3 separate regions of the Homo sapiens genome follow, and regions 1 and 3 are each linked to region 2. The links are contacts of gene promoters, found by promoter capture Hi-C in blood cells and fetal thymus (Javierre and others, 2016). All regions are on one chromosome and are shown on one strand. The core of a region is centred on a gene start or on the middle of the fragment in contact, and the rest is flanking DNA. Distances in the headings are between cores, read along the strand shown. Region 1 has its middle 63 kb from the start of IL21-AS1. Region 2 holds the start of IL2 (interleukin 2). Region 3 has its middle 80 kb from the start of IL21-AS1.

Region 1 (3,581 bases), core at 955-3,454, 99 kb before region 2:
TGTTTTTGTTTGAGATGGAGTCTGTCTCTGTCGCCCAGGCTGGAGTGCAGTGGCGCGATCTCGGCTCAATGCAAGCTCCGCTTCCCGGGTTCACGCCATTCTCCTGCCTCAGCCTCCCCAGCAGCTGGGACTACAGGCGCATGCTGCCACGCCCGGCTGATTTTTTGTATTTTTAGTAGAGACGGGGTTTCACCGTGTTAACCAGGATGGTCTGGATCTCCTGACCTTGTGATCCGCCCACCTCGGCCTCCCACAGTGCTAGGATTACAGGCGTGAGCCACTGCGTCCGGCCTCCTCTCTTGGTTTTTAGGAATTGAAGCCACATGTGGGGGCACAGGACTGTAGTTCCAGCTACCCGGGAGGCTGAGATGGGAGGAATGCTTGAGCCCAGGAGTTCAAGTTCAGCCTGGGCCACATAGTAAGACCCCTGTATTTTTTTAAAAAAGGAATTGAGGAACACTTCTATCTGATTCTTCTACCTCTCTGTTCAGTCCTCCTCAGACTCATTGCTGGTTCCTGTTTCTTAATCCATTTATTAGTCCTGCTGTTTCCTTGAATTTTTCCTTCATTTGCTTTTCTTCTCCTTTTTTTTTCCTGCTGATCTAACTTATTTTTTTAGCTTTAATTTTATGTATAAATGACTCCCAAATCTACATTCCAGTCCTGATTTCTTTCCTTATCTCCAGACCTATATATCTGTCTACTAGATATATCCACCTTAATAACTTCCAGGCATTCTGAACTCAACATATTTTCTTTTCAAATCTGCTATTGTCCTTTCATTGTCTGTTTTGGTTAATGACATCCTATCCACCCACTTGCCCAGGCTGGAAAACTTGGAGTCATCCTAGATTCTTGTATCTTTTTTGTTCCCATCTCACATTTCATCAGTCACTAAGATAGGTGGATTCTTACAGCACATACCACACAGATCCTTGTTGACTTGACCTTCCCCGTGCCCCACCTCCACTACATGAGCAATTTGAAAGCAGAAGCTATGTCTATTCAATTATGAATCCTTAGTTCATACCACTGAGCCTGGTACTTGGTACACTAGTGGCTTTGCAAATGTTTCTGTATTGTTGCTGATTCTCCTGAACACATATAATTTACAAGCATTGCTCAATGCTTGGGTCCAATAAGGCAGAGGTCCCCAACCCTCAGGCCAGGGACTGGTATTAGTCCGTGGCCTGTTAGGAACTCTGCTGCACAGCAGGAGGTGAGCAGCAGTCCAAGGAGCATTATGACCTGAGCTCCACCTCCCGTCAGATCAGCGGCAGCATTAGATTCTTATAGGAGTGTGAACCTCATTGTGAACTGCACATGCAAGGGATCTAGGTTGCATGCTCCTTATGAGAATCTAATGACTGATGATCTGTCACAGTCTCACACCACCCCCAGTTGGGACTATCTAGTTGCAGGAAAATAAGCTCAGGGCTCCCACTGATTCTATATTTTGATGAATTGTATAATTATTTCAATATATATTACAATGTAATAATAATAGAAATAAAGTGCACAATAAATGTAATATGCTTGAATCATCCCCAAACCATCCCCCAACCCCCTGTCTGTGGAATAACGGTCTTCCACAAAACTGGTTCCTGATGCCAAAAAAGGTTGGGGACTGCTGAAATAAGGATGAAGAACATCCTTTGATATATTTGTTTCTTTTAATAGAAAAGCACATGATACATTTACATTTTTCTAGTGGATTATAGTTCTCACTATAATTTCTATAGAGAAATCAAGATTTTTAATTTCTGTACTGAAATCAAGCCCACTTTCCCTTCAAAAGGAAGTACATAAAGGAAAGGATCCCATGAAAATGCCAAATACTATGCAGCCATAAAAAATGATGAGTTCATGTCCTTTGTAGGGACATGGATGAAATTGGAAATCATCATTCTCAGTAAACTATCGCAAGAAAAAAAACCAAACACCGCATATTCTCACTCATAGGTGGGAATTGAACAATGAAAACACATGGACACAGGAAGGGGAACATCACACTCTGGGGACTGTTGTGGGGTGGGGGGAGGGGGGAGGGATAGCTTTAGGAGATATACCTAATGCTAAATGACGAGTTAATGGGTGCAGCACACCAGCATGGCACATGGATACATATGTAACTAACCTGCACATTGTGCACATGTACCCTAAAACTTAAAGTATAATAATAATAAAATAAAATTTTAAAAAAATTGTCAAGAAGTTTCAATGAAGAGTGATTTGCCTTAGTTTGGGTCCCCTCCAAAGTGAGCCTGAGATAAGAACATGGGAGCAGATCTCTCCATATTTGGGTGGTGCTCCCAGGAAGCAGGAGTGAGGGAGAAGGGAGAGTTAGAGAAGAAAAAAAAAAAAAAACAAAAACCAAAAACAGGAAAGAAGGGTTTACTGGTTTACTGAGCTGGTTTCTACTGTGAACAACTGGGACCCAATCCCAAGGAGACCCTCCAAGGAAGTAATGCAGAATGCCCCAGCAGATTGTTCAAGTGCAGAAGAGGCATTTATCTACTGACTCCCTTCTACCCCTGGAGGAAGGTTATCTCCAGGAAAATAAACCTTTCTGCACTCCCGGGCTGCTCATATATACGGGCCAATGAATTCTGCTGATTTTGATAAAAACCACAGGACAGGAAAGAGGAAAGGCTTATGATGGATGCCTGATGTATGATTAATGGCATGCATAGCACTGTTCACCATGGCTGCAGTTGAAATCAAAGGTAAACTGAGAGAAAAACACATCTGTTCTAAGAATGAAATATGATAAAACTAGAGAAACAGGCTTTCTGGGTATCTGAACAGATGGGGGTGGGTGCAAGATGAAGACTTGAATGAGTTTAATGACTATTTCCACTAGAAACATCCTTGGGTGTTCCCTTGCTTTTTTTTAATTTTAAAAGAAATAGGGTAGGCTGGGAAGGGAGCAAGTGGTGAGGAGTGTGTCAGAGCCAGAGATAGACACCTGTATGCTGGCTCCCCCCACCCCAGTTCAACTCCCTACTGACTATCTCTATTTGAGAGGATGCAAAAGCTAAATAGTTTATTTCCCAGTCTTCTTTGCTAGAATACCTAGAATTACCACGTGATATCATTCTGGCAACAAAGCACTAGAGAATGGCCAGGTGCAGTGGCTCATGCCTGTAATCCCAGCACCTTGGGAGGCTGAGGCACTTTGGGAGACTTGAGGTCAGGTGTTTGAGACCAGCCTGGCCAACATGATGAAACCTCGTCTCTACTAAAAATACAAAAATTAGCTGGGCGTGGTGGTGCATGCCTGTAATCCCAACTACTTGGGTGGCTGAGGCACGAGAATCGCTTGAACCTGGGAGGCACAGGTTGCAGTGAGCCGAGATTGCACATCTGTGCTCCCGCCTGGGCGACAGAATGAGACTCTGTCTCAAAAACAAAAACATTAGAGAAAATCTGTTGACACTAACCTCTTTCTCCCTGCTCCTCTTCTACAGTCTTAGATGAACATGAATGTGATGTTCAGAGCTGTAGTGTCCATCTTATAAACATGAAGTGACAAACAAGGAAGAAAGTCCAAACTGATATAGAGGCAATGCAAATCCCAA
Region 2 (3,767 bases), core at 788-3,287:
CTAGTGACTTTACTGCCACAACCAGAAAAGCCAGCTGATGTGTCAGACGTGAGAAAGCGAAAGTATGTCACAGCGAATGTAGCTTTTCCACACGTATTTCAAGAAAGAAATGAAAAAGCCAACTTCTATAATGGTGCCTACTGTGCATTAACAGAGATAAACTAGGGGTCTAAGAACTCAGTTTTCTACAGGGTCCCAGAAGTATAGCCATATATTGCCCCATTCTCTAATGGAAATAGCCAGAGAAATAGAAATATCAAGACTGGAGAACATCAAATACCTCATTGGAAAAGCCCCCACATAGGAAAATGTGTGGGCTTGAATTCTTCCATTCTGGAAGGGTAAAGGCCTGAGTGATGATGCTGGGATTAGACACTGAAACTCTTTAGAGAAGCAAAACAAGTATAATAAAGCTGTACTTTATTATATTAAATAAATAACACACAGACTACCAAATAGCCTGCCCCTTATAACAGCGTTAATGTGATTTTGATCTGAAATGTATAGAGACATTTTGCATTTTTTCGTATAAAAAGTTCATGAGATTTGGCCCTAATCTGACCTTTTCTTCATTTTTTTTTCTACTTGAGGGACTATAATCTTTATTTTTAAATTTGTTTTATATTCTCCGAACATTACCTAACGCATAGAAAACTCTTATTGAACCATTTTTCTCTGTTCTTTGTAAAATATTACATTTGACTGTTCCTTAGACTGCTTTAATCATTCCTGCCTATGCACCCTCCTCAAAATCCAGTTTAAATTAATTGTTCCTTATTCAAGATTCCTTATATCCACCTCCCTTGGGGCAGCAATCACCTATCACCCAGGACTACACTTGTGTATGTACATATCTTCCCTATTACAAATCAGGTTCTTTGAAAAAATACAAATGGTAAGAGAGTGGATTTTTGGAGTCAGAACATTCTCTTTTCAAATCCTTCTTCTGCCCCTTACTGGCAATAAGGGCTGAGTGACCTAGAGCAAATTACTTAACTTCTCTGAGCCTCAGTTTTCTAATCTGCAAAATAGGAGCCATCACTTCACAAGTCTGTAAGACTTATATTAGACTAAGTGCCTGCCTGTACACTGTTCTCTTTTCTCTCTTTCTATATACCTGAAGGCATTATAGGTGCTAGATGTCTGTTTAAAGACCAGACAATATTGTCTTAAAAAAACAAACAAAAACACAGACAATACCATCTTTAAAAAAAAAAAAAAAGTCCAGGTAAGAAATAAATAAGGCCATAGAATGGAAGCTTTACAAGGACTCTCTCTGAGACAGGATCTCCTCAAGTGTCCCCAGGTTAAATTAGAAGTATATATCCGTACAATTGTTCAGCCAGTTTGTGCACTGTACTGAGGATGAATGAACACCTATCCTAAATATCCTAGTCTTCTGACTAAAAACAAGATCATATTTCATAACGATTATTGTTACATTCATAGTGTCCCAGGTGATTTAGAGGATAAATAAAAATCCATTAAAGAGGTAAAGACATAAAAACGAGAAACATGGACTGGTTTACACATAACACATACAAAGTCTATTATAAAACTAGCATCAGTATCCTTGAATGCAAACCTTTTTCTGAGTATTTAACAATCGCACCCTTTAAAAAATGTACAATAGACATTAAGAGACTTAAACAGATATATAATCATTTTAAATTAAAATAGCGTTAAACAGTACCTCAAGCTCAATAAGCATTTTAAGTATTCTAATCTTAGTATTTCTCTAGCTGACATGTAAGAAGCAATCTATCTTATTGTATGCAATTAGCTCATTGTGTGGATAAAAAGGTAAAACCATTCTGAAACAGGAAACCAATACACTTCCTGTTTTATCAACAAATCTAAACATTTATTCTTTTCATCTGTTTACTCTTGCTCTTGTCCACCACAATATGCTATTCACATGTTCAGTGTAGTTTTATGACAAAGAAAATTTTCTGAGTTACTTTTGTATCCCCACCCCCTTAAAGAAAGGAGGAAAAACTGTTTCATACAGAAGGCGTTAATTGCATGAATTAGAGCTATCACCTAAGTGTGGGCTAATGTAACAAAGAGGGATTTCACCTACATCCATTCAGTCAGTCTTTGGGGGTTTAAAGAAATTCCAAAGAGTCATCAGAAGAGGAAAAATGAAGGTAATGTTTTTTCAGACAGGTAAAGTCTTTGAAAATATGTGTAATATGTAAAACATTTTGACACCCCCATAATATTTTTCCAGAATTAACAGTATAAATTGCATCTCTTGTTCAAGAGTTCCCTATCACTCTCTTTAATCACTACTCACAGTAACCTCAACTCCTGCCACAATGTACAGGATGCAACTCCTGTCTTGCATTGCACTAAGTCTTGCACTTGTCACAAACAGTGCACCTACTTCAAGTTCTACAAAGAAAACACAGCTACAACTGGAGCATTTACTGCTGGATTTACAGATGATTTTGAATGGAATTAATGTAAGTATATTTCCTTTCTTACTAAAATTATTACATTTAGTAATCTAGCTGGAGATCATTTCTTAATAACAATGCATTATACTTTCTTAGAATTACAAGAATCCCAAACTCACCAGGATGCTCACATTTAAGTTTTACATGCCCAAGAAGGTAAGTACAATATTTTATGTTCAATTTCTGTTTTAATAAAATTCAAAGTAATATGAAAATTTGCACAGATGGGACTAATAGCAGCTCATCTGAGGTAAAGAGTAACTTTAATTTGTTTTTTTGAAAACCCAAGTTTGATAATGAAGCCTCTATTAAAACAGTTTTACCTATATTTTTAATATATATTTGTGTGTTGGTGGGGGTGGGAAGAAAACATAAAAATAATATTCTCACTTTATCGATAAGACAATTCTAAACAAAAATGTTCATTTATGGTTTCATTTAAAAATGTAAAACTCTAAAATATTTGATTATGTCATTTTAGTATGTAAAATACCAAAATCTATTTCCAAGGAGCCCACTTTTAAAAATCTTTTCTTGTTTTAGGAAAGGTTTCTAAGTGAGAGGCAGCATAACACTAATAGCACAGAGTCTGGGGCCAGATATCTGAAGTGAAATCTCAGCTCTGCCATGTCCTAGCTTTCATGATCTTTGGCAAATTACCTACTCTGTTTGTGATTCAGTTTCATGTCTACTTAAATGAATAACTGTATATACTTAATATGGCTTTGTGAGAATTAGTAAGTAAATGTAAAGCACTCAGAACCGTGTCTGGCATAAGGTAAATACCATACAAGCATTAGCTATTATTAGTAGTATTAAAGATAAAATTTTCACTGAGAAATACAAAGTAAAATTTTGGACTTTATCTTTTTACCAATAGAACTTGAGATTTATAATGCTATATGACTTATTTTCCAAGATTAAAAGCTTCATTAGGTTGTTTTTGGATTCAGATAGAGCATAAGCATAATCATCCAAGCTCCTAGGCTACATTAGGTGTGTAAAGCTACCTAGTAGCTGTGCCAGTTAAGAGAGAATGAACAAAATCTGGTGCCAGAAAGAGCTTGTGCCAGGGTGAATCCAAGCCCAGAAAATAATAGGATTTAAGGGGACACAGATGCAATCCCATTGACTCAAATTCTATTAATTCAAGAGAAATCTGCTTCTAACTACCCTTCTGAAAGATGTAAAGGAGACAGCTTACAGATGTTACTCTAGTTTAATCAGAGCCACATAATGCAACTCCAGCAACATAAAGATACTAGATGCTGTTTTCTGAAGAAAATTTCTCCACATTGTTCATGC
Region 3 (3,410 bases), core at 475-2,974, 82 kb before region 2:
TTAGTCAGAATATTAGGGATTTAAAACTGAAGGGTTTATAAATCAGACAATTTTTCACTTTTCTGTTACAGCAACTTAGACAATGCCCATTATGTGACACTTCCCTCTACCATAATCAGAAAGACAGGAAACCACAAATTACCTCATTTTGCCTGATAATTCTGGGCTCTGACTCACTTAGAAGGTGTGATTAGAATCATAGAATTTAAATCTTGAAGGGAATAGAGAGGTCATCTCACTGACTTATCATGGGAATCACCTGAGGCTGTTTTTTGTTGCTTTTTAAAAATACAAGATTCCTTTTCTCTTCTCCCCACCCCCGGAGATACTGATTTTCTAGGTCTGACTTGGAGCTCCAGAATCTGTACTTTTAGAAGGTTCCTAGGTGATTCAGAGCATTAGCTCAGTCTGTTATCCATTATACAGTTCTCTCTCCCTTCAAATGAAGGAATATCTACTTTCACATTCTTGATTTGTGAATATCCAGCTTTTGTAGGAACAGTGTAAGAAATGTGGCCTTCCCTGTAGAGTCATGCTTGTCACTTCACAAATTGACTGCATAGTACTACACATTCGTTATTTACTCTTTCTCAAGCATGTGTTGAATGCTATGCTGAGTCCTAGTACTAGCAATAGGAACTATTTGTGAAGGACTCGCAAAGGACAAGCACTGTACAAAACATTTTACAAACAAGATATTTAATCTGCACAACAGTCCTCCTGCGAGGTAGGTTTGTATAGATGTACCCATTTTAAGAAGACATTTAGGAGAGAGAGAATTTAAACCAACATCTTCTGAAGTCTCTATTGCTCATATGTTTTCCAGTATACCATGTGTATCATCCAGTTACACAATAATTACATAGATAGGTAGATACACTAACACTATGCTTTTTTAAAAGAGAAACTAGTTTCTCTTAGTTTCAGGAAATATGCTTATTTTTTTCTGACCATCTTAATTATGCAAATAATACTTATAGTCAATAACTATTGATGACTTATAATCTCCCAAATACACCCAGGTACCATAAATACCATTTTATGCTATTTACCTGTATTAATTCATTTCTTAAACAAATCCTATGAAGTACATATTATTATTCTTCCCAATTTGTAGATGAAAAAAATTAAGACTTAAAGGGCCAAATAACCTGCCCAATATCTTGGGCAGCAAGTGGGCAAGCTGGGATTTAAACCTAAGGAGTCTGGCTCTAAAGCCTTTGCTGTCACTCACTATACTCTATTATCTCTCAAGCATAGACACCAGTTATCATGGGTTAGAATATAAAAAGGCATTATTATTTTTTGATGATGATGATGACTTACTCCATCAGTGCTATCATTTCCTAAGACCCCTGTCACTGGAGAGGAGGTAGATTATGTTTGTTTGTTTGAATTTTCCACATTTTATTTATATCAAAATCAGAATTTATTATAATTTTACTTTCCTGGCTTAAAAGGAAGTTAACTTATCTATAATATATTTAAAATATTCTCAGTTTATCTCATTTCAAAATGAGAGTATTGCCAAATACCTGCATGGCTTTTTTATAATTAGCAATTATCTTAAGTAATTTTTCATGTATTTCAGCTCACTGAAACATCTCTGCAAACCCCACTGTGACTAGTATTGAATCCGGTCTACTCTCATTTTTTTTTTTTTTTTTGTAATGGATCAAGTTTTTAAAGAGCTCAAAGCCTTTGGGACAAATCCAGACCAGGAGATAGGGAAAGGAATTAAGGCCTTTGAAATGAAATTATTTTGAGAAAGGTAAAGTCTAGGATGGTTCTCTGGGGTCAAGGAAAGGCTCACGAGGATGGTCATGAGTGAGGATTGCTATGAGCATAGTCTTGGGACTAGTGCCAGAGTACCTTTGGGCTCTTACAGCAGAGACAAAAGAGGGTTTGGGGAATGAGATAACACAAAAAATTAGCTAGTCAAGTCAGACTCACCTAAATCCAAACCTTTACCCAACATTGAGCTTTTACAAAAATTTCAAGATACAGGCAATCAAGAGACTCAAATGAAGCAAAGAGGGATCTGAGACATTGAGGGTGGTTCCTTGGATCCTATCTTTTCATGTCAAACATTTACTCTCTGGCCCAGAATAATAAATGAGGATCTTCTAGTGACATTTAAAGGTTTTTTTTTTCTCACGCAGAAGGAGGAGCATTTGAGTCATACAATATCTCCATTTTATATCTCAAAGAATGACATTTTCCAGGGAGCTGTGCCTTATGTCGCCATATATCGTAGATTTATTTACACTAAGTCAGTGGTATTCAACAGATGAAATCTCTTCCTGCTAACAAACATCATTCATCTATTTACTTAGAGGTCCAATTGATAAGAAAATCAGATTGGGGCACTTGCCCTCTTTTCTTTCTCTCAGAGGTTGGCCCTTGGTAAAGGAAATTAATGGGTCACAGGCCAGATGCTTTACTTTCTTTGTCCATTGTAAACTGTGGCTCAGCAAGAGGAGACAGAGTGGCAGAGCTGGCCCTGGACCAGCATGAGCATCCCCGAACAGTGGACAAGCACTTTCCTTCAAACTGGGTCACACTATGCTTGAATAGAAACCCAGTGGGATGAAAAGATCCCCATTGGACTGAGTAAATCTCTGAAAAATAAAAGCTGTTACCTTATTTGTATACTACATTGAATAAACTGTTTATATATTTCCATGTGTAAATAAATAAATGTATGCCTACAAATAGTATTGACCATTCATAACAAGTCCATAGACTAGTGCAGTGATTCTCAAGCTGGGGTGATACCACTCTGCCCAGTAATATTTGGAGATGGGTGATGAGCCTTTTTTGGTTGTCACAGTAACTAGGGGGCACTGCTAGCATTTAGTGGGATGGAGCCAGGAACACTGCACAATAAATTGTCTCACTCAAAATGCCAGTATGTACTCTGTTGAGAAACTTTGCTCATGAGAGATCCACAGGTATGCCATCATAGTCTGCATGACAGAAGTGTGCCAAGTTCTACCTATGCCGCATTGTGGTATGCTGAATTTATCCCAAAACAGTGGTAGGGAGGAATTAAGAGTAGTTCTGTACATACACAAATCTTTAAAATGAGTCTGATTTTCACTACTTCATGTGTTAGATAATTTCAGTACTGACAATCCCTATGGGAGATATGCTGTTTATTTAAATCCACAAGAGGCTTTATGATTTAAAATTCCCACTGTTTTACAGATTTCTTTAAAATAGGATAGGGAACACTCATTTTGTTTTATAGAATGAAGTGTTGCCTGCTTGTAGAACTGTAAATAAAGCCAGTTAAGGTCTTTAAAAATAAATAAATACAAAATAACATAATATGGATTCTTACTTGTTGAGTATGGTTTAAACATTATACTCCTGGAAAACACAGAGTAGATAAATTGATCTCTTAA

The links. The method cuts DNA at HindIII sites, captures the fragments that hold promoters and counts their contacts. A CHiCAGO score of 5 or more calls a contact.
Region 1: a fragment that was not itself captured here is called in contact with the fragment with the promoter of IL2 in region 2 in 1 of 17 cell types (activated CD4 T cells); the score reaches 6.9 in activated CD4 T cells.
Region 3: a fragment that was not itself captured here is called in contact with the fragment with the promoter of IL2 in region 2 in 1 of 17 cell types (activated CD4 T cells); the score reaches 6.9 in activated CD4 T cells.

What each region holds. Positions count from the first base shown.
Region 1 is chr4:122,554,477-122,558,057 of GRCh38, reverse strand. No RefSeq gene overlaps it. Among named protein-coding and RNA genes, the nearest start is that of IL21-AS1, 63 kb to the left of the region's middle. The HindIII fragment of the contact is 6,323 bases long and covers 1-3,581 here.
Region 2 is chr4:122,454,995-122,458,761 of GRCh38, reverse strand. IL2 (interleukin 2) reads left to right here and starts at 2,037. Exons shown (of 4, transcript NM_000586.4): 1 at 2,037-2,468; 2 at 2,559-2,618. The coding sequence starts at 2,322. RefSeq lists an enhancer at 1-51. The HindIII fragment of the contact is 2,130 bases long and covers 1,262-3,391 here.
Region 3 is chr4:122,537,026-122,540,435 of GRCh38, reverse strand. No RefSeq gene overlaps it. Among named protein-coding and RNA genes, the nearest start is that of IL21-AS1, 80 kb to the left of the region's middle. The HindIII fragment of the contact is 7,362 bases long and covers 1-3,410 here.